Regions from separate parts of the Homo sapiens genome. Here all the other regions are linked to region 2. The links are contacts of gene promoters, found by promoter capture Hi-C in blood cells and fetal thymus (Javierre and others, 2016). All regions are on one chromosome and are shown on one strand. Each heading gives the region's core, a stretch centred on a gene start or on the middle of the fragment in contact. The rest is flanking DNA. Distances are from core to core; before and after follow the strand shown. Region 1 has its middle 20 kb from the start of LINC03040. Region 2 holds the start of VEGFA (vascular endothelial growth factor A). Region 3 overlaps LINC01512 (long intergenic non-protein coding RNA 1512). Region 4 overlaps LINC01512 (long intergenic non-protein coding RNA 1512).

Region 1 (7,148 bases), core at 2,070-4,569, 210 kb before region 2:
ACCACAGGGCCCCTCTTCTGTATTACCCTGCTTTATTTTTCTCCAAATCTCTAATATGTTTGCAGTGGGTTGGATGGTGGTCCCCCAAAATGTCCATGTTCTAACCCCTAGAACCCGTGCATATGGCCACAGTGAGTTGAATAGTGTCTCCCTCCAAACTTCATGTTCACCAGGAACCTCACAATGTGACCTTATTTGGAAATAGTGTCTTTGCGGATATAATTAAGTATCTCAAGATGAGGCTCTCTTGATTTAGAGTGGGCCCTAAGTCCAATTACTAATGTCCTTATGAGAAGAGGAGACACAGAGAGACAGAGGGAAGAAGGCCACCTGAACATGGAGGCAGAGATAGCAGTGATGCTCAGATGCGTGCCCTCCGGAACTGTGAGAGAACACATTTCTGTTGGTCGTAAGCCACCAAGTGGGTGATTTGTTATGGCAGCCACAAGACTCCGTAATTTACTGATTTATTTAGTTTATTGTCTACAGACACACTCCCTCCCACCGTCTCATGAATCTGAGCTCCAAGAGGATAGGGTTTTTTTTTCTTTTGCTCACTTGATATATCCCCTGCGACGAACACAGTGCCTGTTATCTTACGGGTGCTGAGTAAATATTTGTCAAGTGGTTGAGTGAATAAATTAGATGAAAGCAGACAGGAGGGGTGGGTCCTCAGGGGACCGACTTGGCTGCCCAACATCTGGGCCTGCTGAATGCAGCTCAGTGTGGTGGGAACTTGGCACCTGTGCAGGAGATCACCTGGAAGAGGAGAGGAAGAGCTGGGGTCCCTTAGGACCAGCCTCCCCAGGACAGGTGGCCTCAGTTCATCTGTCACAGCCTTACCTGTGGACAGGTGAACATGGAGAGCTAAGTGGAGCCTGCCTTGCGTCCACATTCAGGCTCTGCTCAAGCCTTTGTGGGAAGGGCCTCTGCATGGAGGGGGCACCCTCTCCCCACATCCCATAGCCAAAGTCCCATCCCTAGATCAAGTTCAGATGCCTCAACAGTTGGTATGAAAAGGGACCTAATTCCTCCCCACCACCCTGTGCAGCTCCGATCCCAGCCCTTCCCACCCCCAGGCCAGGCCTCCAGGGTCACTGTGAGCAGAGGGACTCAGGAAGGTCATGGTTTGGGGGCTGAGGGCAGAGAGTCCCAGGGGCAGGAATGGGGACTTCATCCATCTCTAAGTTTCCAGGTCTGTGTCAGGCAATCTGGCTCTGTCCTGACTCTCCAGAGACTGATAAAGGTCCGAGGTGGGTGAGAGATGTCCACAGAGTCTTTGCTACTCCTACTGCCAAGAGTTGGTTTCTATTTTCCCTCTCCTTGATTCTGGCTTGGCCTTATGACTTGCTTTGACTGAAAAAAATGCAATGATGCTGTGCCAGTCCCAGGCTCAACCCTAGAGAGGCCTGACTGCCTTCCCTCCCTGTCTCCTCTTCCTCCAAGCCAGGCACCGTGCTGTAAGGAAGTCCAGGCTATTCTGCTGGAGAGAGAGACTCTGGAGGATCAGGCACTAAGAGGAGGCACACGGAAGCCGGTTGATGGCACGGAGGCTTCAGAGTTGCCATTGAGGCCACCCTGGACCTTCCAGCTGAATGCAGCTGATTAAGTGGCCTAATCCCAGGTTAGACTTGCAGAACAGCCAGGACTACCACCAGAATTGTGAGAAATTAAGCCATTATTGTTTTAAGGCACTATGTTTGGGAATAGTTTGTTTTGCAGCCATAGAAAACTTGGAGGGCTGTATCTCAGAGGTCTTGTGACTCCAACACTGTGGGATTTCTGAGAGCTTACCTAGAAGCTGGTTCCCCAGGGCGTATGGAGCAACACACATCTCAGACACTGTAGGCACAAGGTCTTGAGCTGCAGGGATTCACTGATTCTAGAATTTTGACACCCAGGGAGACCATGACCAGCCCCTTCTCAGCTGCTCTCCCCATCACCTCCCATCAGAAAGCTTTCCTCCAAACTTTCCAGCCTCCAACCAGTTTCCACTCTGGCTCAGGCTTGTAGAGCCTGGGCAGAGTGTAGGGGCAGAACCAGCAAGCTTTGTCTGGGGTGGCTGGCAGTCTCCTCTCTCTCCATGTGCCCCCCATCAAGGTCAGCTGGGTGAAGAGGCTGCTGGTGAAACATCCTGTTACAGATGCTGCCCAGAGATGTCAGAAGATGTCAAGGCCATGCAGGGCAGCCAGGCCTGGGCTGCAGGAGGCATAACAAGGGCGGCAGATGCTTGTGTCCTGCTCTGGAATGTTCTGGTGTTCAGCCTTTTGCAGAGGACAGAGAAGGCTATGAGGTATCAACACTGGAGAGGATAATGCTGATTCAAGCTCCATTGCAGAGGACAATGGCCTTTCCCAAGTTTGCTGGTTTGGTGTTTCTGTGGCCTGGGCTATCTTGAAGGGCTAGGGAGGCTGGACAGTGTAGGCTTGAGCCTGACCTCTTGATACCATATTCACCCTGCTGTTCTGGCAACTGGCCTGGGGGTTGTACAGGGGAGGGCCTTCTCACTGCGACCCATGTCCTCAGGGCAGGGCCTGGGCTGTGAGAGACGTGACCCTGGAGGTCCCTTTGGACCCCCAGGATCTCAGTTACAGGGTTTCCCAAGAACAAAAATGCCCGGCCTGCCCATGGGTGGTCACTCAGGCCCACCCAGGCTCCCTGGGTTACCTTTGCCCTGTGGGGACTAAGTCTCTTTGGCTCCTTCTGGGGGCTTCTGGGCCTTGGGACACTGCTGTGAATGTTGGAAACAGCTCTGACTTCCCTTGCAAGTGATCCTCCTGCCAATCCCTTCCCCACCCAGGAGCCCACCAGGGTGATCATGGCTGTGGGGAAGCCAGATATGGGCAGCTATGCCCCCAGGAGGTGTCTTGCACATATCCCTGTCTCCAGGGCAGGGGTGTCCTGGCTGAAAATCTCCCTTCCCTAATGCGGAGGGGAGAGTGTTTCATAGGTCACCAACTGCCCCTCAGGGCAACCCTTCTGGCTGGCCCCACCTGCCTGGAGCCAAATCCCCAAGTTCCAGCTCAGTGAGGAATTCTCCACACAACCTAACCAACTCACTGTCCCCTCTCCCATAAAGAAGAATAGAAACTTCTTCAGGTCTAGCTCTCCCAGCTCTGCTATCCTGGGGTTCTCTATAGGTACCTTGTTGCATCCTTCCTTCTTCCTCTCTCCCCTTGGGTAAGTTAAGGAACATCTCTGAGCCCCTATATCCTTGTCTATTAAATGGGATCGTAAGACCCACCTTGGAGGGCAGAGGGTTGTGAACTTTTTTTTTTTTAGAATCAGGGTCTTGCTCTATAGTGGTATGATCATAGATCATAGCTCACTGCAGCCTCAAACTTGGGCTCAAGTGATCCTCCTGCCTAAGCAAGTAGCTGAGACTGTAGGTACGCACCACCATGCCTGGCTAATTTTAATTTTTTTAGAGACAGGGTCTCACTATGTTGCCTAGGCTGGTCTCACACTCCTGGCCTTAAGCAGTCTTTCCATCTTGGCCTCCCAGAGTATGGGATTACAGGCGTGAACCACTCTCCTGGCCTTATAGTAAGGATTAAGTGAGGAGGTAGGAAGGAGGAATGGAGGGAGCATCCATCTAAGGGCCTGAGCAGAGGGAACTCACAGCTGAGAAAGGACCATACCTGCTAAGGCCTCAAGTGGTAGCTGCCCGTGTATCTGTTCTAAGCCTGCATCCCCATTCTGTGCCCATCTTGTGTCTGTTCCAGGCCTTGCATGTCTGTCCTCTGCACCTAACCTGTGGGCCCATGAGGCCCACACGTGTTTGGCCTGCACTTGCCATGCAGTGGGGAGGACACAGCATGAAGGCTGTGCTGACGACCCTGGGTAAACAACCTTTTTTACTGCAACATGAGCACAGATGGTTCTCCCTTGTACAGTGGACAATGGCTACCTTGTGTGAGTGAGAAGGAAAAGTGGGTACTTGTAATTGCTGATTTGGGCTGGGTCCCAAACAGGCTTGGAAAGGGCCAAGCAACAGGGGGCCTGGAAAGCCAGCGCCAATGTCTGGGGGTGGGTGGGCATGCAGGAGGGGGCTGGGGTGCAGCCCAGGAAAAAGTGGAGCTAAGACATTGAACAGGGAGAAAGTGGAGGAGCCCACATGCGCCGCTTGAGAAATGAACTGAGGCCGGCTGGGCAGGAAAGAAATGTGTGCGGAGAGAGGGCTCAGCAGGGCTGGGCGCAGGGAGGCTCTTCAGGGAGAGGTCTGGCTGCAGTTTCAGGCTGAGTGGCCTTTGCTTCATTCTGGCTCCCGGCCCCCTGGCTAGGGAAGCACTTAAGGAGAGAAGGCAGACTGGTCCTGAGGCTGGACAAAGCAGAGCAGAGCTCTGAAACCTTGCTAGGTACTTGGAATTTGCTGACTCCCACCATGACGTCCCACCTCCGAGCTTTCTCTGACTCTATGAAAATATTTTTCATACTCTGAAAAGCTGGCCCTGTAACACGCTGCTGATGCTGCTGATGGCTTGGTGAAGGCACAAAGAAAGGACCTTTACTGGACACTTTGGTCCAAATTTCTCTGTGCCCATCGCTTACTCTGACCTCTGCTTTAGAGGCCAGCTCCATGCAAGCTTCGTGGGCTCTGCAAAGGTGCAATTAAATGGCACTTTGCCTTGGCCTAGAACCTCCTACTTCCTGCCAGAGACTTCTCTGATGTCCTACGGGTGGACACCTGTGGAACTGCTTAGCGCTTAAGTAGTGCACACCAGAAGGGACTCCCCTGGAGTCACCTTTGTGCAATGGGGGATACAGGAGCCAAAGGATCCCTTTTTGCCCTTCTGGGTAGACTGTTTTGAAACACATTTCATAAGTCTCTTAAATAGATCTCTGTGGGGTCAACACCCATCACAGGGGTGGCCAACTAGATAACATATCCTTGTATTGGTTGACACCCTGTTCACTCTTTCCTCACCCTCATCTTTTGATCCTGTTCCTGGGATCACTTCCCAAATCAGCTTAGTTGCCCCTGAGACCAAAGCTCCCACAGGTTCCACTTTTAGGGGAAACTAGGCTAAGACAGAGGCCTCTGTTCTGAAAGAGTCCAATTTGGGGGTGCCAGGATGGGAGGTGAGTAGGAACTTGGGCTACAGAAGGAAGCTCTCTATCCTTCTATGATGAAAGCACAGGTCGCGGCTGGCTCCCTTCCTGCACAGAAACCCAAAATAGTGATGACCTGATATTTGCCTCACTGGCCTGCGCAGACTCTACCAGATGTGAGCACCTCCCCAGACCTTGACGCCTCAGGGTGTACCTCAAGGCTGGTGCTCCAAATAAGTAGCATATTTTACGCTGGTCCCTTGTGCAAGCACATCCTCTCACTCACAGGACCCACCCAGCCTTGCTCATTCCCTGATGCATAACTTCAGGAGCAGAGACTGGCCTCCTCCGATTCTTTCTGCAGGCAGTACAAGCTCAGAGACTGTTCTACTCGGGGCTCATGCAGGAGTGAGGAGCCCATGCAGACGCCCCCTGTGGACACCGCCACAGACAGGGCTTCTTAGACAGTCCTGCTTTCCTCTTCTGATGCTAGTGGGACAGCAGGGCTGCTGTGCGGGAAACTCTGCTCAGTTAGCTTACAGCCAGGACCCAGGGACACACAAGGGTGGGAAGCTAGATTGACCGGGGACTATAGCCTGAACCCACTACAGGTATAGCCATGCATCCTTCTGACCTTTGGGGTATGAGGAAACGCTGGTTCCCCCGTCCTTCATGACTTTCAGGCTGGCACTGAGTCATCAGCACCTCCTCCTTCTCCAGAAGCATCAATTTCTGGCAAGCCCAGCTTCTGGCTGGAGCCTAAGAGGAACCTTGGCCTTCAGCCTCATCATCTCCATTCTGAGTTCTTCCTACTCTTCTGTGTAACTTGCTCTACACACTCCCCACACTGACTGCCCCAATCCCTGTGCTTCTCTCAAGGTGTGCTGAGTGAATGAGAAGGAAGGAAAGAGAAGATAAGGATGGAGGGAAGGCCTGCCTGGGAGGTACGCGTGTGGGGCAGATATGGGCTAAAACCTTCGTAGAGCCACAGAAACCCAGGTGGGAGGACCTCAGAGATGAACAGGCTGAGCCCTCCCTGCTGCTGTGAGGCTCACTCATGCCCTTCCCAAGGCATCCATTTGCAGAGGCCTGGAGCAAGGGAAGCCCCTGGAATCCACCCTGGGTCTGTCTCCCTGTGAGACCTTTCCAGTTGTACCTCTGGAACTAATAGCTGACCCCCAAGGGTTTGAAGAAAGTGTCTATGGTGTGATGCTTTATTTTACATGTCCATTTGACTGGACTAAGAAGTACCTAGAAATCTGGTGAGGCATTATTCTTGGGTGTGTCTATGAGGGCGTTTCCAGAGGAGATTAACATGTGAGTCTGAGTGGACTAGGTGGGGAAGATCAGCCCTCAATGTGGGCCCTCCCATTCAACCCTGGGCAGGGTTCTCCCTGGCCACCCTCTTAGCCCCTTCCACCTTCTCACACCTTCTAACCAGATGTCACTTTCTCCACCCTCTTGTACTTTCTAACCAGATCTAACCAGATATCAACCTCTTATCTCACTAAGTGTGCATCCCCCCTCAGCTATGTGAGGAGACTTTGGCCCAAGAGGGATCAGGGACTCAATCAGGTCTCCCTCGAGGCCAGGCAGGGCAAGGACCAGCCTATGGCCGCGTTTCACTTCCCACTCTGCTAACTTGTCACCACACTCGCTGTCATCGCATGCTCTGCTGTGGTTTAGGCTGGGGGGCTTTCCAGAATAGCAGATTCCGAGTGCACAGTGACATGAGATATCTTTGGGACCAAAGTCCTGCCCATAACTGCGAATGAGCCATGCCTGTGGTCAGCACACTTCCTCAGAGCCAGTTCTCGATATTGAAACTTTAGTCCAGGAGGAGTTGTCTTGTGTGCTCTTGATGCTCCCCTGGTGGATGGCTGGGGTTTGTGGACCCGGATTTGGGTGTCTGGGGGAGACAACATTTGGATGGATCTGCTGAAAGCAGCAGTTTGGGGGTGAGTGCAGTTAAGGGCAGGCACCTAGCAAGAAGCTTTATTAGTCTTTTGGATCTTCTGTGGCAAAGAAACAAAATCCTTCCCCTTTAGTTTATTTAGGCAGAAATTGACTCTGAGAGGTAAATTACTGAACCAGGA
Region 2 (6,928 bases), core at 2,980-5,479:
TCCCCTGAGAGGACAGGGAACCCCATCCAACAGCCAGGGGGACTCACCTTCGTGATGATTCTGCCCTCCTCCTTCTGCCATGGGTGCAGCCTGGGACCACTGAGGACAGAAAGAGAGCAAGGCATGGGCATGGGCAGGGGCTGGGGTGCACAGGCCCAGCCACCCAGCCCCTCCTCCCTCCTCACTTCCCTCCCACCAACAGCCTCTGGCTTCTCCAAGTCTTCTGAGTCGAACAGGACACAACCGGGGGTCCCCACGGGCACAGAATATGCCCACCACTCCTGGACTGCTATGGTTATGAACCCGAGGAAGTTAAAGACTAACCAGATGTTGGGGGCTGGGGAGCTCGAAATGCAGGAGGAAAACCCCAGAATGCTTCACTGTCGAGGTCCCCTGTACCTTCCCCACACTTCCCTCTCCCTGCTCTCACTATCCCCCTAGTTCCCTGGTCCAAAGCCATGGTAAGTATTAAGGTCAAATAGGAGGACAAATTTGGACTGGGGCAGGAAGGAAGGACTAGGGGCGAGAAAAACAACATGGTGACCTTCTCCTGCTGACATGACAAATACCAGGGTGAGCTGGTGTTGGAGACGGAGGGGGGTGCCGAGGACCGAAGGGCACCAACCACCCTCCCCCATCCAAGCTCTTCTAGTCCTTAGGAATAACCCAGCATGCCCACAGGTTGCTTAGAGGGTAAAAACCCAGGAGGAGACCCTGGGGGAGAACCACATTTTCCTCTCTACACAAATCTCTCCAGAGCCTCAATAGATTTCCAAAGCCTCACCTGTCTCCCACTCCTACCTGTTCCCTGGTTTCTTCTCCCTCCCAGGGTGAGGAGGTGCCAAGCCCCTCTCACCTGGGCACCTTCAAATGCCACCAGGGACCAGGGAAGGCTTTTATGCCTTGGCACTGCCCAGCCCCTAGGGGGCCCCCTGCACCACCTTAGGCCTGAGGCCTCCTCTAACCCTCCCCACCCGCATCAGATCATTCCTCCCCTCGCCAGAAGCTGTGAAGGTCAACACGCCAAGACATGCGGACCTGACAGCACCCAAAAGGAAAGGCTTCTGCCAGCCCTTCCTGGGGGTCTCCAGCTCTCACCAACTCCCCTCCCGCCCAGCACTCGCAGAGCAGAGGGGCACTCTAGCCTACGGAACACCAGACCCTGCTAGGGGAGAGTCCCACTGTCCATCTTTCTTTCCCTCTCCTTCCCACACACCCCAAATGCACCCCACTCAGGTACCCCAGCCCTGCTCCCAGAGACAGCCAAGGTCACAGGAAGCCCCTCTCAAGAGAAAACAACAGTTACCAGGCTTCCAGCTGGACAGCTTACCACTGCGGCTCCTGCAGGGACCCCCTGGATTCTGCACCTCAGCCCCCTCACCCATTCCCATGACACCCCCTGCCTTCCCCCTGACAATATTCTCCCGGGACCCTCCACTCCTCCTGGGCCCCAAGGAGGAAAGGGGACGGAAATTTCATACCCCTTCCAAGGCCAGGGAGCACAGGAGGGGCGGTTCTAGGCAGGCAGGGGCCAGGTGTCCTTCTCTGGGGGCCTCTGAAGGTCACACTGTGGCCAGGCAGCCACTCCTCCCCCTCCTCCCTACTTGGAGGCCTGTAGCCAAGGCCTTTGTGCCAGGGTCTGAGGAACTTGCGGTGTTAGCAGCGACCCCTGTCCATGGCTTTCCTCTTGCCTCCTCTCCAAGGGAATTCTGGCTGAGGGAAGGCGTCAGAGAGGAGCGGAAAGGGACCCTTTAGAGTCCCTTTCAGAAGCAAGTTGGGTGGGCAGGTTTGGAGTTCCAAAAAAACACCTGCTCCAGGGCTGCCTTTCACCAGGACAAAGTGTGTGCAAGGCTGGCAGGAGCTCCTTTCCAGGGTTCAGGAAGGACTATTCCCATGCTGCCCGTGTCACAGCAAATTTCAAGCCATTTCTCCAAAAGGGTAAAGTGGGGCAATGACTCTTCAAATCCTCCCTTGACCCACCCCCACGAGAGCTAAAGCACAGCTCACTCGGAACTGTTGGCGAGGGAAGGGAAGCACACTGTCACCAAGTCGGGACTTTCGGTGGAATGTGACAAAGCGCCCAGTGGGCTCCCGCGCCACGACTTCTGACAGTGATCATCCTTTCCCTGGACTCTGGGGCCAGAAAGGGGTTAGATGGATCTTCTCCGCAGAGAGAAATGAAAATAAGCGGGGTGACAGGGGCTTCTCTCCAGGCTAAAAAGGAAATGGGTGAAGAGAAGGGGCGTCAGGAAATTCCTCCTAGCACTGGGCAGAGGTAGGGTCTGGAGACAGTAGGAAGGGGTAGGGATGGTTCTCTGGATCCCCGGGCTGGGGCTACCTCGAGAGGTCACCTTCCCGCGGAGGGCTGGCGGGGGGAGGGGTGCCGCTCGCCACTCTGGGCTCCCCATTCGGGCAGCCGAGGCTCCGGGAACACGCGGCCGGCCAGGCCCGGGCTGATGTAATCGGCTCCGCGCCGCGCGCACCCGGCCGGGCGGGGGAGGGCGGGCACCGAGCGGGACGCGAGCGGGGACGGGCGGGGTTGGCGCGGCGCAGGTGGCCCAGCAGGGAGGGGGGGTCCCCGCAGCAATCCACCCCAAAACTTTTCCCAAACTCGCGGCGAGGGCTGAAGAGACCGAGTGGCAGTGACAGCAAGCCCCCTCTCCCTCCTGCGCCCTGCCCCCTCCACGCTCTCTGCCCTCCCGCGGTCCAAGGTCCGAGCACCCCCTGCCCACTGGTCTCTGGCTCCCGCCCCCGCTGCTCAGACTTCCAGTTCGTCCGGGACCAGCGGCCGGGAGCAAACTTCAGCCGGCAGCGGCAACGCAAGCCCAGCCCCCTCGGCCTCCTCCTCCGGCTCCCGCCCTCGGCTGGTCGGCCCAGATCGTACGTGCGGTGACTCCGGTGGGTGGGCAGGGCCCGCGTGGGCGGTGAGCCTCTCTCCGGGTACCCTCCCACCTAGCGCGCGCGCCCCCTCCCCCTGCACCTAAGACGACAGAGGGGGACGCCGCACGCCTGGTGCCCATGGACCCGCGTGGGGCACGGAGCCCCCACGCGCGCGCTCGCACGCACGTCCCCAGCCGGGAGAGGCGCTCGCAGCGGCCCGCGGCGCCAGCAGGGCACGACCGCTTACCTTGGCATGGTGGAGGTAGAGCAGCAAGGCAAGGCTCCAATGCACCCAAGACAGCAGAAAGTTCATGGTTTCGGAGGCCCGACCGGGGCCGGCGCGGCTCGCGCTCCCTCTCCGGCTCGGGCTGTGGGGCGGCCCGCTCTCCTCGGCGCCTCGGCGAGCTACTCTTCCTCCCCGGCCCGAGGCCCGGGCCAGGGCCTGGGGAGCGCGCGCGGCTGGAGCACTGTCTGCGCACACCGCCGCCTCACCCGTCCATGAGCCCGGCTTCCGAGCGCCGAGTCGCCACTGCGGCCCCCTCTCCTCTTCCTTCTCTTCTTCCTCCTCCCCCTCCTCCGGCTGCGGCTCCTCCCGGCCCGAGCTAGCACTTCTCGCGGCTCCGCTCGGCTCGGCTTCCCCCGCGCGGACCACGGCTCCTCCGAAGCGAGAACAGCCCAGAAGTTGGACGAAAAGTTTCAGTGCGACGCCGCGAGCCCCGACCCCCTCCACCCCGCCTCCGGGCGCGGGCTCCGGCCCCTGCCCGCGGCTCGCCGCCGCGTCCACTGTCCGCCGCCGGCCGGGGAGGAGGTGGTAGCTGGGGCTGGGGGCGGTGTCTGTCTGTCTGTCCGTCAGCGCGACTGGTCAGCTGCGGGATCCCAAGGGGGAGGGCTCACGCCGCGCTCCGGCGGTCACCCCCAAAAGCAGGTCACTCACTTTGCCCCTGTCGCTTTCGCTGCTCGCACGCCCGCGCGCTCTCTCTGACCCCGTCTCTCTCTTCCTCGACTTCTCTCTGGAGCTCTTGCTACCTCTTTCCTCTTTCTGCTGGTTTCCAAAATCCACAGTGATTTGGGGAAGTAGAGCAATCTCCCCAAGCCGTCGGCCCGATTCAAGTGGGGAATGGCAAGCAAAAATAAATTAAAACGAGAAACAATACAGTTTTAAAAAAAAATGTTTAAGAAAAAAGAAGAGGGATAAAACCCGGATCAATGAATATCAAATTCCAGCACCGAGCGCCCTGGCCGGTGAGTCCGCTGACCGGTCCACCTAACCGCTGCGCCTCCCGACAGAGCGCTGGTGCTAGCCCCCAGCGCCACGACCTCCGAGCTACCCGGCTGCCCCAAGCCTCCGCGATCCTCCCCGCTACCAGCCGACTTTTAAAAAAAAAAGGGGGGGGCGCATGGCTCCGCCCCGCCGGGACCCCGCCCCCGGCCCGCCCCGGGGGGCGGGGACAGGCGAGCCTCAGCCCTTCCACACGCGGCTCGGGCCCGGGCTCTGCGGACGCTCAGTGAAGCCTGGCCCGCAGCCCGCCGCAATGAAGGGGAAGCTCGACCCCCACCAAGGTTCACAGCCTGAAAATTACCCATCCGCCCCCGGAAACTCTGTCCAGAGACACGCGCCCGCGGGGCATTGGCGAGGAGGGAGCAGGAAAGTGAGGTTACGTGCGGACAGGGCCTGAGAGCCGTTCCCTCTTTGCTAGGAATATTGAAGGGGGCAGGGGAAGGCGGAGAGCCGGACAGGGACGGGTGGGGAGAGGGACACACAGATCTATTGGAATCCTGGAGTGACCCCTGGCCTTCTCCCCGCTCCAACGCCCTCAACCCCACACGCACACACTCACTCACCCACACAGACACACACGTCCTCACTCTCGAAGACGCTGCTCGCTCCATTCACCCAGCTTCCCTGTGGTGGCCGAGCGCCCCCTAGTGACTGCCGTCTGCACACCCCGGCTCTGGCTAAAGAGGGAATGGGCTTTGGAAAGGGGGTGGGGGGAGTTTGCTCCTGGACCCCCTATTTCTGACCTCCCAAACAGCTACATATTTGGGACTGGAGTTGCTTCATGTACAGAGAGCCCAGGGCTGGGCACAGGGGCCACAGTGTGTCCCTCTGACAATGTGCCATCTGGAGCCCTCATCTGGCCTGCAGACATCAAAGTGAGCGGCAGCCAACAGGCTGGAGTGACTGGGGTCCTTTGGGAAGTGTCCAGGGATGCTTCCCAGGGGAGAAGAATTTGGCACCAAGTTTGTGGAGCTGAGAACGGGAAGCTGTGTGGTTCCGGGGTTAGTCAGTGACTGGGAGGGAAGAGGACCTGTTGGAGCCCACGTATGCACTGTGGAGTCTGGCAAAACCCAAAGGGGGAGGCAGCTGGGCAGACAGAGGCCCTTGTTCCTGCTGCCCCCCCAACCCCAGATGTTGCCAGGGAACTGAGGCCAGGGGGCTGGTGGGGGCGGGTGGAGGCCAGGGCCTGCGTGATGATTCAAACCTACCCGCCAGCACTAAGGAACGTCTGTAGGCCAGCTGCCCAGAGCTCCCACCAGGCCAGGGGCCAAGGCTTCTATCAGCCCAAGCCCAGACTCATAGCTCATCTTCTGAATAGAAATGGGGGTTTCGTCTCAGCTCCCCCATTCCCTCAGGATCCCTTGGCTACTTCTCCAGGCTCACAGCTTCTCCCCTATCCTTCCCCCAGTCCCCTCCCTTACCTCCAAGCCCCCTTTTCCTCCAACTCTCCACATCTTCCCTAAGTGCTCCCAAAGGCCCCATCCCATTCTTGCATATAGGAAGCAGCTTGGAAAAATTCCTAGCTGGTTTCTGACCTGGCTATTTCCAGGCTGCCCCAGGGAACAAAGTTGGGGCTCTGAGGCCTGTGGGAAGAGTGGGACCAGTCAGTCTGATTATCCACCCAGATCTTGCCAGGGTCTGGCCTACAGCTGGCATAGCCTCTGTGGAGGCATGGACTGAGAATGGGAATGCAGCAATTTCCCTCAATTTAACCAAAACGCTCCAGGGAGCTTACCTAGTCAGCCCCATCCTCAGCACATGTTGCTGTGGTTTGGTGGAGGTGCTAGGTTACCTCCCCAGTACCCCCAGTTCCATCGGTATGGTGTCCTAAGGCCCTTATGAGGAAAAGGGCTGGCTCCCACCCACCCCAACCCTCCCTTTCCATCATTCGTGCACTAGTCCTGTCTCCACCACTTGGCAGGCTCCCCAGCAGCAGGGACAAGGTCTTTGTACAGTTAGTAAATGTTTATTTCCTGGCTCAGGGCCCCCTCCCAGGCAGGCCTCCTCACCTGGGCTCCATGCTCTAGGCTGATGAACGGGATATGGAAGGGAAGCCACTAACTTTCCTCCTTGTGCGCCTCTAGCACCCCAGGAGCACAAGCTGTAGACATCTTGGGGCAGGATGGAGGCTCTGAGCCCTAAGGGCTCATTCTGGCCCCCTCCCTTGCATCCCTTCTCAACTCGGCCTTCTTCAGCCCCTAAAAGAGCCAACAGACCTGAAAGAGCAGGTCTTAGTAAAAAACAAATAAACAAATCTGAAGCTAAGAGGAGGCTGGAGGGGTTCCAAGGAGGGATAGCCATCACCAGTCACTCCGTGGCCCCAGGCACCCCCCACCCCCATAAGCCAACTGTCCTCCATGGTGGTACCCAGCAAGGTGTGTTACAACAACCTGTTTGTGTTTCCCTCTGGGGCTTTGCCCAGGGATCCAGGGGAGTGAGGGCACAGAATTCCTTTTATATAAGGCTAGGATTACAACCTGGCCTAGGGGTTTTTGAGCTACCTTCATTAGGGCGAGAAAGTATGGCCCACCTCCCCCCTTCATTGTGGAGATATAACCTGGCTGTGACCTGGAGGGGTTAACTCTGGATCCCATGCCCCAGTGTGTTGTCACCGGCATTTACAACAATGTACTCTTAAGGACTCAGCCAGTGCCCACATTGTCACCAAATTAAAAGCTCAAGTCACCTAGTCACCTGAGCTTTCAAAAAAGGGGAAAAAGCACAAAACAACAATCACAAGACCACATGTATCTCTGTGGCATCTTCCCT
Region 3 (6,268 bases), core at 2,027-4,526, 160 kb before region 2:
AGGCCTGTCTTTCCCATTAGACTCCGAGGGGCCTGACTCCCTGGGCAAATAAAGGATGGAGTGAAGGGTGAACAAGTGAAAGAGTGAGTGAATAAATAAATGGCTGAGTCCTGTCTGGGATCAAAGGAGACCGTTGGCTGCCTTACGCAGCCCATGTTGCCCAACACACTGACACGCATGTGTTGTGCTCAGATCTGAGCTCCTCTCCAAATTTCTGCCCTGGGGCCTGGTCCAGCCTCCAGGCCTTTGCTCCCACCACACCCCTCCTCACTCCCACGCCCTCCCACATCCCTGACTCCCCTTGGTTCTTCCAGTGGCCTTGACCCCACCTGCCCAGCTGTCTGACCCAGAGCCCCACAGCCTCAGGGTGGGTTTTTTTCCTGCTTTCCTTTAAGAATAGGGGTCACGTTTAACTCAAGAGCCAGCCACACCTTCTGGGCTTGAGTTCCTTCTGCCACCTTCCTGAGGGAAAGAGACTGAATTTTCTCCAGTCTCAGTTTCCAAATCTGTAAAATGGGGATAATACCGATGATTAAGAGAATTAGATGGGGTTCCAAATTGACCCTGGGATGGAGCAGCTGCTTGGTCAGTACTTGGTGCATGGGGCTTTCCTTCCCTTCTTGTCCCCGCCACTGCCCCTGCAGGCCTCATGGGGCTTCTGTCTGTGGGGCCCAGGAGAGCCACCTTGCTTTCTAGAACAGGACTAGAAGCGACTCGCTCCTCTTGAAAGTGAGGATCCTGGAGCTGGGATGGCAGGAGGGCCCAGCCTGTGAGCCAGAAGGACCATTAAGCCAGAAAAGAGGAGATCCTGAGAGAGGATCAGAACTGGAACATATGCATGAAGGGTTCTAAAGGAACAACTAGAACTGAAATGAGAGAGCTCGAGATTAGACAAGAGACAGGACTTCCCCATTCTGAAGGCTGAGGAAGAAGCACAGTGGCTGAGGCAAAGCCAGGGCACTCCTGCCTGAAGTTGAAGGGAGCTTTGAAAAAAAAAATTATAATTTGAATTTATCTCCAGCTTCCAAGTTTTTAGAGTGTTTGCCTGATCCTCATCTTATTTCATCCTTATAACAAACCCTTAATGTGTGGCAACAGTGTAGCTTATCAAATAGATAGATAAGCATTGTGACTCCCCTCCTACATGGGGAGGAAAAAAGGTTCTGAGGCCTAAGGTTGCCCAGCAGAGGCACAAGGAACTGGGCTAGAGCTCTCTCATGAAGCTCTTAGGTTGTCAGCTTTCCCTCACCCTTTCCGAGGCTTAGCAAGTCTGCATATTTTTTGACGCTGAAGTTTGATGCTAATTTCTTTGCTTGGCTAAGAAAAACACGAGAAATGAAGAGTAGGGGAGGTTTTCCCATACTGTGGAGTGCAGTGACACCCAGGTGTGTGCCTTTACCTCTGGTACTAGACTAGGACCAGCTTGGAGGTGAACAGAGAGGATTTTCTCCCAGGCAGGGAAAGGAAGACTCAGGACAGCCAGAGGGGGCTGGGCCTCAGATGGAGCCTGGGCTTCCATCAAAGGCAGACGCCTCTTTGACCCCATCTGGGCAGCAGTCCTTTCGTCCGTGTGGCCAGACCCCCCTCTCCATTCTCACCCCAGCCCCGGCCCATCTCTGCCTTGCCCCAAGCCTGCAAACAATGCGTTGTTGACAATCGTGGGGGCTAAACACTCGATAACACGGTCCCCACCACAGCAGACATCCTAACAGCGGGCAGGGCTGTGTGCTGTGACGGGAAGATGCTTTGAATACATCATTCTGTCAACTGAGTTTATTATTCTTTTGCTCAAGATAAACTGCAGCCGCCAACGAGGGGCTGTATAAATTCCAGGCTCAGAAGTCGAGCAGGCCCCACTCCTTGTTAAACACTCACTCACACACACGCACATTCACATAAATCGTGCTGAGAAAATACCACCCCGCCGCGGCCCCACAGGTCTCTTCGGGGCTCAGTAGCCTCTATCTCATGGGGTGGTCCTGGGAGCAGCTGCAGACATCAGGGGACCCAAGGCCTGGGCCTGCCCTTGGGCCACTTCCCTGGCTAAGGCTGAGCTGACTCCTTCTGGGGGCCAGAGAAGGTCTCCCCACAGGAGCCAGCTGTCCTTGGGGTCAAACCCAGCCTCTTGACTCCTGGACTTCTGTCTATCCAAGGCTACAGTCCTGCTGTGGGTGGCCAGGGCACCCACATGCCTGTACTGGGGAGGAGACAGGCTTCAGACCCAAGGGTGGCCATGGAACAGAAAGTGAACCCCAGTGAAGTCTTCAGAGACAATCAGCATCCATCCTGGGGGAAAGGGGACTCCATGAACCACCACTGCCCACCCCCACACAGAGGAAATGCCGAGGAATCCATGTCACTTCCACATGCTGGCAGAAAGGGGCATCTCCACGCCCAGAGCACACACCCAGCCCGTTCTTCCCAGGGCCCAAGCTATTCGCAGCTGCAGGGGAGGGGTCCTGTGGGCTTCATTTCCATCTCGCCCTGTCTCACTTGGGGACTTAGAATGAAAACAAAAACAAAACTGAAAAACACCATGCTGGGCGCAGGGACCGTAATAGGAAGCAGCAGAGTGCAGTGGAAGGAGCATGAGCTTTGGCCCTAGACCTGGGTTTCACTCTCCAACTAACAGTTTCCTCCTCCATAAAATGGGGAGTACAATTTCTACTATGCGGTACTGTCATGGGCCTGCAGTCAAAGCGAGGCTGTTTTACCGTTCACAATGCCCCTTTCCCAGTCACAGCCAGGCCAGGAAGTTCAGCATTATTATCCCCATTTTATGGAGGAGGAAACTAAAACACCAAGCAGAGTCCAAGGCATCTCAGGTTGTAAGCTCGTTTCAGTTCTAACTCCAAAGCATGATTATCACAATAATTTAGCACCTGCTGTATGCAGGGGAACGCACTGGATGTTGAGGGAACATATAGGAGTTTGACTTGGCCCTGAGGATACCCCCTACCTCCCACCCTAGAGTATGGACTCTGTCAGGGCAGGGGGCTGTCTTCTCCAGGGCATGTCTCCCCTTGCCTAAGAGGACCTCAGCACTAGCAGGCGAAGCCCTGGATTTGGGATTCAAGGACTGGTCTCACCACAGTTTTAGCCACATGACCCCAGGCAGGTTGCTTGATCTCTCTGAACCTCATTTTTCTCTTCCCCTTAGGGTGGAGTCTCCGGGAGGATGGCTGTGGAAGAACTGCCAATTCCAAGGGCCTGGTCAGGCAGAGGCATTCTTACTATTCCAAAACAAGGAAAGGGTAAAACCAAGATGTCAAAGGCCCCGCTGGTGTGGAAGCAAATTTCTGCCTCCACCAGCTGGATGGCTGCTACCCCTGTACAGGTTCCTAACACTGGAACAGGGATCAACCCAAGTGCTTGGGGCTCACCATGTCCTCCTCCCCAGCCAGGACAGCAAGTGGAAGACACAGGCGAGCTGAAAGAGGCTCACTGTGTGCCCAGCCCTAACCCCCTGCCTCATTGGCACCAGGCACCCAGGACTCCTCAGAACTCAGAGCCAGGGTTTGGGCAGCCTCCTCGTAGTGCTCCTTGAATAGGATTTATAGGACTTGCACCAGGAGCTTTGGGCCATTCCAGGGGACATTGCTTTGGGGGAAAAAAGGACCCAATATGGGTATCTAGAACTTGAAGCATGTCGTCAGAGATCGGAGCTCCAGGGAATTGGAAAATTATGCTTCAGAGGTTCCCAAGGGAATGATGGCCTGAATCCCACTCCTCCCCCAAAATAAAGCTCCTTTGACCTCTTTCGTATTTTGGGCTCCACTTAGTACCTAATTGAATGAAAGATTTTACTGCTAAAAAGCAACCGAGAAGTTCACTGATGGAGTTCAACTCTCTTATTTCACAAACGAAGAGACTGGGCTTCAGAGAGGACTGGCGAATGCAGTGGCTCAGAGATCAGAGCAGAGCTAGAGTTAGGCTCCTGGCCAAGTGCTTGCTCTTCCAACCTCGCCTGTCTACAGCCATTCCCCAGTGGGTCACCAAAGCTGGTGTCATAAAGATTCTGTCAAAATCACCTAGGCAGCTTGTCAGAATTTGAAACTTGGTCATCTGGATTCTTTGTAAGTTCCCCGGGTGATTCTAATCCATACCTGGGACTGGGAACCAGTGCTCTGGGCCAAGAAGGATGCTCCCAAATCGCTAACATAGAACCACATGCCTGGAGTGTGACCTTGGGTGGATTACTTTTCTCTGTATCTCAATTTCCTCATTAGCTAGAGAATAACAAGAGTGCCTGGTACTCAGCATTGCTGTAATGTCAAATGAGTTGGCCTATGACTGGCACAGGCCTCATCTTCTACACTGTGCCACTCTGCTCCTTCCTCACTGTGCTCCAGCCACAGCAGCTCTCTGGCTGTCCTTGAACTCAGCAAGCACGTTCCTGTCCCAAGGCTTTTGCAATTACTATTCCCTCTGCCTGTCATTTTTGTCCTCCAAATAGTCCTATGCCCCCTCCCATGTCTCCTTCAGGGGCCTGCCCAAATGTCACTGAATCAGAGGCTTTCCGCTCTCCACCCTTTCTCTTCACTTACTTTTTACCACCTCACCTATTTTCTTTTCTTCTCTGTTTTGTTGTTTTGTTGTTGTTGTTGTTGTTGTTGAGACAGGGCCTCCCTCTGTCGCCCAGGCTGAAGTGCAGTGGCACGAACATGGCTCACTCCTCCCTCAACCTCCCGAGCTTAAGCGATCCTTCCACCTCAGCCTCCTGAGTAGCTGAGATGACAGGTGTGTGCCACCATGCCCAGCTAATTTCTTGATTTTTTGTAGGGATGGGGTCTCCCTATGTTGCCCAGGCTGGCATTGAACTCCTAGACTCAAGCCATCCTCGCACCTCGGCCTGCCTATTTTCTGTGTACTCACTTCTTGGTTTATTGTCTGTGTCTCCCACTAAAATGGGAGCTCCCTGAGTGCAGGGACTTTGCCTTGCTTACTGCCATATCCTCAGCACCTAGAAAAGTGCCTGGCACTCAATAAATATTATTGATTGAATGAATGAGAAGAAAGTACTTAAGTTGTGCCAGGTACAAAGTAGGCATCTACTATATGCAGTTATTATTGTCATTCACATTTTCACCTACATTGGGATGTGGTAAAGGCCAAATATGGGGCACAGCTCCACCCCTAAGGGTGGTGGAAGAAGGAAAGGTGTACCTCACAGGCTATAGGAGGCCCACATGAGCTGTGTGACCTCAGGTAGCTGTGTCCATATCCCTGAGTCCCGGTCTCCTGTTCCATCCAATGGGACAGCCATGCTTGTTCTGTGTCTCGCCATTGCTGAGAAGGGTATTCAGGCAGCCATGTCTCTGCTGTTATTTTGGCTCTTAACTCAGAGGCAGATGGGACTCAAGGACGGATACCTGAGTGAGGTCACAACTTAGGGATCTAATGTCACCCTGACACGAGAGCAAAGTGGTCACCTCCTTAGTGATGCAGACACAAGGACAGCCCCCTCACCAACAGGGGACATGCTGAGAGCTCCTGACACGTGAAAACATGCCTCACATGGCTCCCTCTCTGCCACCTCCTCACACTCAGCTTCTGTTGATTGTACTGAGGCAGCTGGGAGATCGCTGTCGGCAAGGTGCAGGCCCTGCTGGGCTAAAACACACAAGGCAGCCCCCAGTGCCACCGTCAGCCCAGCTCTGGCAGTCTGTCCACCCTGGAGGCCAACTTGCACTGGGAGCTGGCTTCTGGGATATTCTCCCAACCCACCCAAGGGCCAGGGACTTCCATGGAGCCTATAAGTGCCTTCAGGGTGGTATACGAAGCTGATAGGTCTGGTCCTTCCCTTCCCAGCCTGCTCATCCCTGCCCCCTCCCCTCACTACATGTATTCAGATGACACAAATGAATAAGTGAATGAATGGATGAGCAACTTTTCCAGACTTCACCCCAAGCCCTAGGCCTCAGGCTACATCTGCCTCTTGCTTGCTGTAGGAAAAGGCAGCAGTTCAACACAGAAGATGTTTGTGAGGGTTTGACTATGGGATGCTCAGTTCCTCCCCAGGGAGCTCATGGACTCCGGGGGACATGGCACATAAGGACTTGCTGGGCTAGAGCTTGCTCATGTTGGAAGGCACAGAAGAGCTGCCTGGAGAAGGGGTTCTGGGAGGAGGGGATACTAATACTAAAGCAAGGTTCCTAGGCTGCATCTTTTAGTTTTTTCTTTTTGTTTTGTTTTTTGTTGTTGTTTTTTGTTTTTCGTTTTTTTGAGACGGAGTTTTGCTCATGTTGCCCTCCATGTGCAATGGCGC
Region 4 (6,341 bases), core at 1,701-4,200, 140 kb before region 2:
ACTTGCCTTCCCCTCCTTCCCCCAGGGACTATAAACTGCTGGGGACCGGGCAGGGGGTGGGGCAGGAGGGCGAGGGCCAGTGGACTGGACTCTGAGGCCACACAAACCTGGATTCAATTCCTAGCTACTGTGACCCTGGGTTACCTTCCTGAACCTAGGATTGGGTAAGGATTATGGGCTTGGCACTGTGCCTGGCGCAGAGGAAGCTCTTGGTAAATTGTAGCCATTGGTATCATTATTGTTAATTATTATTTTAGTCTACTAACTGAAGGATGATTTTCCATTGCCCCATCTCTATTCTTGAGAGGCAGTAGGCTGTAGACCAGTGTTGACTAATAGAACATTCTGCAATGATAGAGACATTTAATATCTGTATTGTCCAATGTGACAGTCTCTAGCCACATGTGGCTGCTGAGCACTTGAAAGGTGGCTAGTGCAGTGAGGAACTGAACTGTAACTGCATTGAACTTTAATGAATTCAAAGTTAAATAGTCACATGCTTTTAGCGGCCACTGTATTGAATGGCACAGGTGAAGAAGGTAAGAGTACAGGCTCTGGGATAGATCCTGCTCCTGCTACTTCCTTGCTGTAAGACCTTGGGCCTGTTACTGGCTGCTCTGAGCCACAGCTTCCTTATCTGTAAAATGCAGATATGATAGCACCAATTTCCCAGGGTGGTTTCGAGGATTAAACATGTTAATGGATATAAAGTGCCCATTTTGGAAGTGTTCAAGGAAACTTAGCTATTATGATTACTCTCTTTGGCACTAATGCTGGCCTGGAATCCATGGGCATGACTGTGTCTGCATTCTGACGGCAGGATCTTGAGTTCAGGGCCTCTGTTGGCTCCTATTCTGAATCTCTCCTGGGCCCAGCCCAGGGAGAAAACCCATGTCCATTGGACAGGGAGTGCAGGAGACTCAGAAAGCTTTGAGGATACAGATAGGAGACGCCCCAGTTGATAGCCCAGCCCACGCTGCCCCTCTTCCCACAGCGGTGGTGGGACGGTTGGCCTTCTCGAGAAGAGGAGGGCTGTGAGGGGCAGGAAAAGGCAAACCTGAGAGAGGAGCTTTGATGGGCTCAGGGTCAAGAGGCTTTCTCTGTTCCAATCTCCTGAGTCAGGGAGCTGTAGGAGCCAAACTGTGTCCCTTCAACCCCCTCTCCAAACACTGGGGTTTAATTGATCCACCTGCCAAACTCAGCCAGAAGCCAGAGGTCAGAAGGCTCTACCAGAAAACAGCAGGCTTCTAAGAAATGGAAGATCTGGGTTCAACACCAGGGCACTGGAGCCGAGTCTTTGGAATTCCCCTTTCCTCTTCACCCAGATGAGGAACTGAACTCCTTGATTTCAGGGAATGGATGCAAGCTTGTGTCCTTTCCACTCAGTTTCTTCCACAACTAAAGGTCTGAGGGCAACAAGGGTGTGAGGGCCATGTGGGGATTTCCAAACCCCAGGACTTCTTGGTGTCCAAGAGGCATGACCTCAACTTGTCCCAAAGAACAAAACAGCATCAGAAGCTAAGGACCCTCTGAAGGTCTCCAAAGTCCCCACCTTCTTTCTGTCTCTCTCCTCACCTGTCCTGGACTCAGTAGGAAATGGTAGGGTCTGAAGGCAAGGCCCAAGTCTCCTCTGTGAGGCGGCCCAAGAGAACACCTGTCTCTCCCAGCAAAACCTCAGAGCCCCCTCCTTCCCAAGTGTTTGAGACTCTGGCTTCGCAGCCAGGAGCAACCCACCCTGCAGAGCCACAGAGAAATGCCACAGTCCCATGGGACACAGAAACAGGACGTGGGGCAGGGTGGGGGAACCATCTTTGCTCCACTCTTTCCCTGATATCAGGGTAAAAGACAGCAGGAGGTGTGAGCTCGGATGCCAGGAGGGCATCCTGATGGTGGGACATATGAACCGGTGGGTTGTAGGAGCCAGTTATATTAGACTTTCTGGTCTGGCTGATGGTCAGGGTTCTGGGAGAGGGGGAAGTGTGGGATTTAAAAGACACAGGATACATGGCTGATATGATCTCTCAGCTGGACTTGGAGTCAGACCGATTTAGGTTTAATCCCAGCCAGGCCGCTGACTGGCTGGGTGACCTTGGGTTAATTATTTAATGATACTTCTATTCAGCTTCCTCATCTGTAAAATGAGGGTGAAGAGATTCACCACCAAGGTTTGGAGGAGTGGGGGAGGCAAATGGCCCTAGCCCAGTGCCTGGCATGTACTGGGGAATAGAGAGGTGGCTGGGGGTTTAGGGTGCACAGGAAAGGGAAGACCCGCAGGAAGGCAGGCTGAGAGTGGGGAGCTAAGTCCCCTAGTGGGAAAGACTGATCTCCACATCAGGAGATGATCTGTGGTCCTGCTCCAGACCAAGAAGTGGGCCCTCCTCCATGTGCCCAGGCTGACAGTCTCCCGCTCGCCTGCCCTGCTCCTGCACCCCACTTTAGGGCAATCCTGGGGGCACTGCCAGAGAACTGGGAGGCCTCCCTGGAGATCTAGGCTCTTCTGGCAGATGCCCATCCCCCTTTGTCCTGGGGCCTCTCGTTTGCCAATCCCAGGAAGCCCCTTGCTCAGAGGGAACTGATTTCCCCTAGACAGCCTTGCTCCTCCCGCTGCAGGACTCTCAGGGAGCCCTAAGAAATACCATGGGCTGTGGGCAGCCGCCGAGCCTGCTTCAGATCCAGCTCTGGTGAGTGTTGGGGCTGGGAAGCCACTGGTGATCTGGTGGTGTCAGCTCGTAGGCAGGTTTGCTCAGAGACCCACTTACTACTGGACTCAAGTGTAACTTCAAAGACCATCTGGACCTTGTGGGGGTGCAGGAAGGAAGCTGGCTTTGCTCGACTGGCACCATGGCATCAGCTGGCCCTGTTAAGTGGCCTTCGAGGACCTCCCTCCCCTGTCCCCCCATGATGAGTGAGAAGGACTCTGCCCACTGGGCTGTAAAGAGCCTCACAAAGTCAGCTCAGGCAAGACTCCCTACTTGCCGAGGAGGAAAACAGAGAGATGGGGAGGGCTTGGGATTCCGGAGCTTATGGACCCAGTGGGTGTTTCAATTCAATTCCAGGCCTCTTGGATGCAAAGGGGCAAAGCTCTTGTTGTGAGTTGAGACACAGCCCCTACCCTCTTAGACTGGGGATTTTCTGGGAGCAGGGCTGTGTTCCCTCATCAGATTGGCCCTGGGGGTGCAGGTAGGGGTAGAGGGTACCTCAGTTAGCTGTGACTTACTCCCACAATCAGAGTAAGACTGCAGTGTCTGCAGAAGGAGGAAATCTCTAACTCGTGATGCACAGGATCTGAGAGTGATTCATTACCAATGAGATAATATGGGGAGAGGAGGGGACATTTTTAACTTTCCTGAGAAGCTGTGGACCCCTGAGAAGATCTCTTGGTTTTCCTCCCTATCTTCTTCATCTCCTCACCACTGCTAGTCCTAACAGAGAGAGGAGAGCCAGGGATGGGGTGGCATCAGAGTAGGGCTGGGAGTGTAGCTGAGGTGTGGGGAGTCGGCCTGCTCCAGGGACTCCCTCCTGTTCTTTCAATCCCCTGTTCTGCATCCCTCAGCTGGCCCCTCTGGCCTCTCTGCAGCCTTGTCTTGCCCAGTGAGACACTAGCTGGGTACCTCCCTCCCTCCAGCTGCCCACTGCCAGGTACAGAGGATAAAAATACCCAGTGGAAAAACACGTGGCTCCAGGTCAAACATTAACCTGCAGGGCCTGGTGTGCCAGCCACGGTGTCCCTTCCCAGGCCACCTGGCCACCAACATGTGGCTGGTAGCAGTGTCCTCTCCCTCTGACCATCACTGAAATTCTCAGACACTTACCCACATGCTTCCTGCAGGAATTCTTCAGAAAGCAAACAGGCACCCACCTGAGGACCCCAGCCCCAAGGACCTAGGCCAGCCAGCCCTTCCAGACTGCCAGCTGCAGGGATGCTCCTCTCTCCTGCTCAGCCTGGGGTCTTCCCTGAAGCTCTCTGGGGTTCCAAGTCACCCCAGCTCCCAGCTGAAAACAGCCCCTCTGACCCTCTGGGGGAGGAGCCCAGCTCAGAAATCCTTAGTTCCTCAGGTTTCCCTTCTACTGCAAAGCTGAGCTCACTTAGAGCCAGAAGGACGGAAGACAGAGGGAAGGGAGCGGGGAGAGGAGGGGGTCTGGCCAATGCTGGCATCCACCTCTTAGCACGCTGGGAGGACACCTGGAGGAGGTACTGGGGAGAGGCGGGCTGGTGAGAAGTTCCAGCCCTGCCCCTAACTTGCCCTACATGCCCAGCTCTGTTGTTCTCTGGGCTGTGAGTCCAGACAGGTGGATGTTCCTCCCGTGGGCCTGGATGGCTCTACGCACACACCTCAGGCCCACCAGGTACTACCAGGCAGGGCCTGCTGGAGGCCACCCCCACAGCTGCCTGAGGCACAGAGCTGGGACAGCCTGACCCTTGGCCCCGACTCATCACACACTTCTGGGGTCCAATGCCCAGTGGTTCTAGGAAATGCCTACACTGCAGCTTTGAGCCTGGGCCAAATGCCCCATTTTCTGTCAAGGAAGCTTGACGGTGCGCGGTGAAGAGAGTACAGTCCATCTGGCCACAGCATGCTGCCCATCATTCTGGCCGCCTGAGGGTCGATGGGCCCTGCATGGAGCATGGAGCCTAGGAGGGGTTTTGGGGGCCCTGGGGTGTCTCTGGGGTCAGGAAGCACTTTGATATCTATGGCAGCATCACAGAGGCATGGCAGAGAGTATGTAAATATTAACTTTGAAGGGGAAGCAGAGGGTTTGAGCAGAGGTCAGCAAGGGCCTCGCAAGAGCGAGTCCTGCCCTGGGTCAAGAGTCCAGCACTGGACAGAGAGTTAAGAGGCCTGGAGCCTGACCTCTGAGAAACAGTGAGGTTCCCCCAGGCACAGGGATTCTCACCCAGGACTGTTCCCCAGGTTCCTTGAGACATTTCCCATCAGGGCGATGGTCACCATGTCAGGATAGGGCTCTGGGGACAGCTCCTGAAGGTCTGGCCCTGATGCTGAGCAAATCGGGGCACACAAGAAGCGCCATGGGCCTTGGAAGCCTTTGGTTTGGAGCCAAGTTCTGCCATTTAAGAAGCCACAGAGTCTTGCATGAGTTACTAAGCCTCTCTGAACCTCAGTTAACTTATCTATAAAATGGGGACAAGAGTGTCCAGCTCTCAAGGTGTTCCAAAGAACGCCTTGTTAAGTTAGCTGATCTTTATGTCGTGCCTGGAACAGAGAATTTATTATACAGGTGCTTGCTCTGGTCGTTTTTTTCTCTCCATTCTGGGCCTCAGTTTCCTCATCTGTAAAATGGGAATAAGGAGGCCCAGCTCACAGGACTAAATGAACTGGTCTTTACGTTGTTATTGCACATGGACCTTGTTCTGTAACTATTAGCATGGTTATCATCTGCTCTCCTCAGTTCCCTCACCTGGATTTGGTCATCTCTTAGGACCTCAGCTGGAGATCAGGGCCCTCAGCACCTGCTCCCTCAACACAAGCACACACCCTGCTCTTCCCCCTCCCTGCCTAGGCCAGAACTGCATCATATCTCCCTCATTATCATCCTGACATTTGCTTTGGCTGTGAAGCAATTACCTGCTGAATTGAACAAAGGCGGAGGAGGGAGGCAGATCATAGGATGGCCAGAAGTCGGGCTTTGGAGAGAGCCACAGGCAGAGGTGTTAGTCCATGCCCTGACCTCAGATCCCAGAAACAAAGCTGATGATGCAGGGAGGTGGGTGTGAGGTGGGGGTCAAGATTCAATTCCCCTAGCTGAGGAGCCGGAGCTGGGGGAGGGGGGATGTTTGCATCTGGATGCCATCTGGATGAGGGCAAACACCGAGGGGCCACTCAAGGAAATGCCTGAGCGGCAAATCAAATCCTGCAAAGAAATCACCAAGCCCTTGAAACGAAAGTCTGAAGGAGAGGAATGTGTCTGGGGAGTGTTGGGGGTGGTGGGGAGACCAAGCTGGGAGGAAGGCCAAGGAGGGAAAAGAAGGGACAATCCAGGGGGCCTCTGCAGGGGGCTCCCTAAACTGGTGGTCCCTCACCCCCAGCAGATGACGAAGCTAAGAACCTCTGGGCTGGAAGTGATGCAGGCAGGGTCCTCAAACGTGAAGAGGGTCTGCATTACCTCTGAATTCTGGGGCTGGCTCCCTGTACCCCCCACCACTTGTCAGACCCCATTCCCTAGAGTGCTGCCGATGTAGCTCCTACTGTGTGCACAGCCCCGGGCTGAGATTCCCAGATGCTCAGAGGTGTGGAGCAGCAGGCTGCGGAGGCTTTGAAATCCCTTCTCTCCTTAAACTGGTGTTTACAAACATTAACTTTTTTGGTCAAGCCATTTTCTCA

What was found. Contacts are between HindIII fragments. The CHiCAGO score rates a contact against its expected background, and 5 or more counts as called.
Region 1: a contact is called between a fragment that was not itself captured here and the fragment with the promoter of VEGFA in region 2, in 7 of 17 cell types (megakaryocytes, erythroblasts, monocytes and 4 more). The highest score is 8.8, in megakaryocytes.
Region 3: a contact is called between a fragment that was not itself captured here and the fragment with the promoter of VEGFA in region 2, in 6 of 17 cell types (erythroblasts, monocytes, megakaryocytes and 3 more). The highest score is 8.1, in erythroblasts.
Region 4: a contact is called between a fragment that was not itself captured here and the fragment with the promoter of VEGFA in region 2, in 1 of 17 cell types (M1 macrophages). The highest score is 5.3, in M1 macrophages.

Annotation. Positions count from the first base shown.
Region 1 is chr6:43,977,277-43,984,424 of GRCh38, reverse strand. No RefSeq gene overlaps it. Among named protein-coding and RNA genes, the nearest start is that of LINC03040, 20 kb to the left of the region's middle. RefSeq lists an enhancer at 6,629-6,888. The HindIII fragment of the contact is 2,539 bases long and covers 2,050-4,588 here.
Region 2 is chr6:43,767,512-43,774,439 of GRCh38, reverse strand. It overlaps VEGFA (vascular endothelial growth factor A), which reads right to left and starts at 4,229. Exons shown (of 8, transcript NM_003376.6): 1 at 3,128-4,229; 2 at 48-99. The coding sequence starts at 3,733. RefSeq lists enhancers at 741-1,506, 1,507-2,272, 2,273-3,038, 3,039-3,804 and silencers at 2,260-2,779, 2,850-3,789, 4,167-4,416. The HindIII fragment of the contact is 11,673 bases long and covers 1-6,928 here.
Region 3 is chr6:43,929,069-43,935,336 of GRCh38, reverse strand. All of the region lies in intron 1 of LINC01512 (long intergenic non-protein coding RNA 1512), which reads right to left. Among named protein-coding and RNA genes, the nearest start is that of LINC01512, 41 kb to the right of the region's middle. The HindIII fragment of the contact is 7,713 bases long and covers 1-6,268 here.
Region 4 is chr6:43,911,126-43,917,466 of GRCh38, reverse strand. The region is part of intron 1 of LINC01512 (long intergenic non-protein coding RNA 1512); the gene reads right to left. Among named protein-coding and RNA genes, the nearest start is that of LINC01512, 23 kb to the right of the region's middle. RefSeq lists enhancers at 3,520-4,309, 5,383-5,945, 5,946-6,341. The HindIII fragment of the contact is 3,164 bases long and covers 1,369-4,532 here.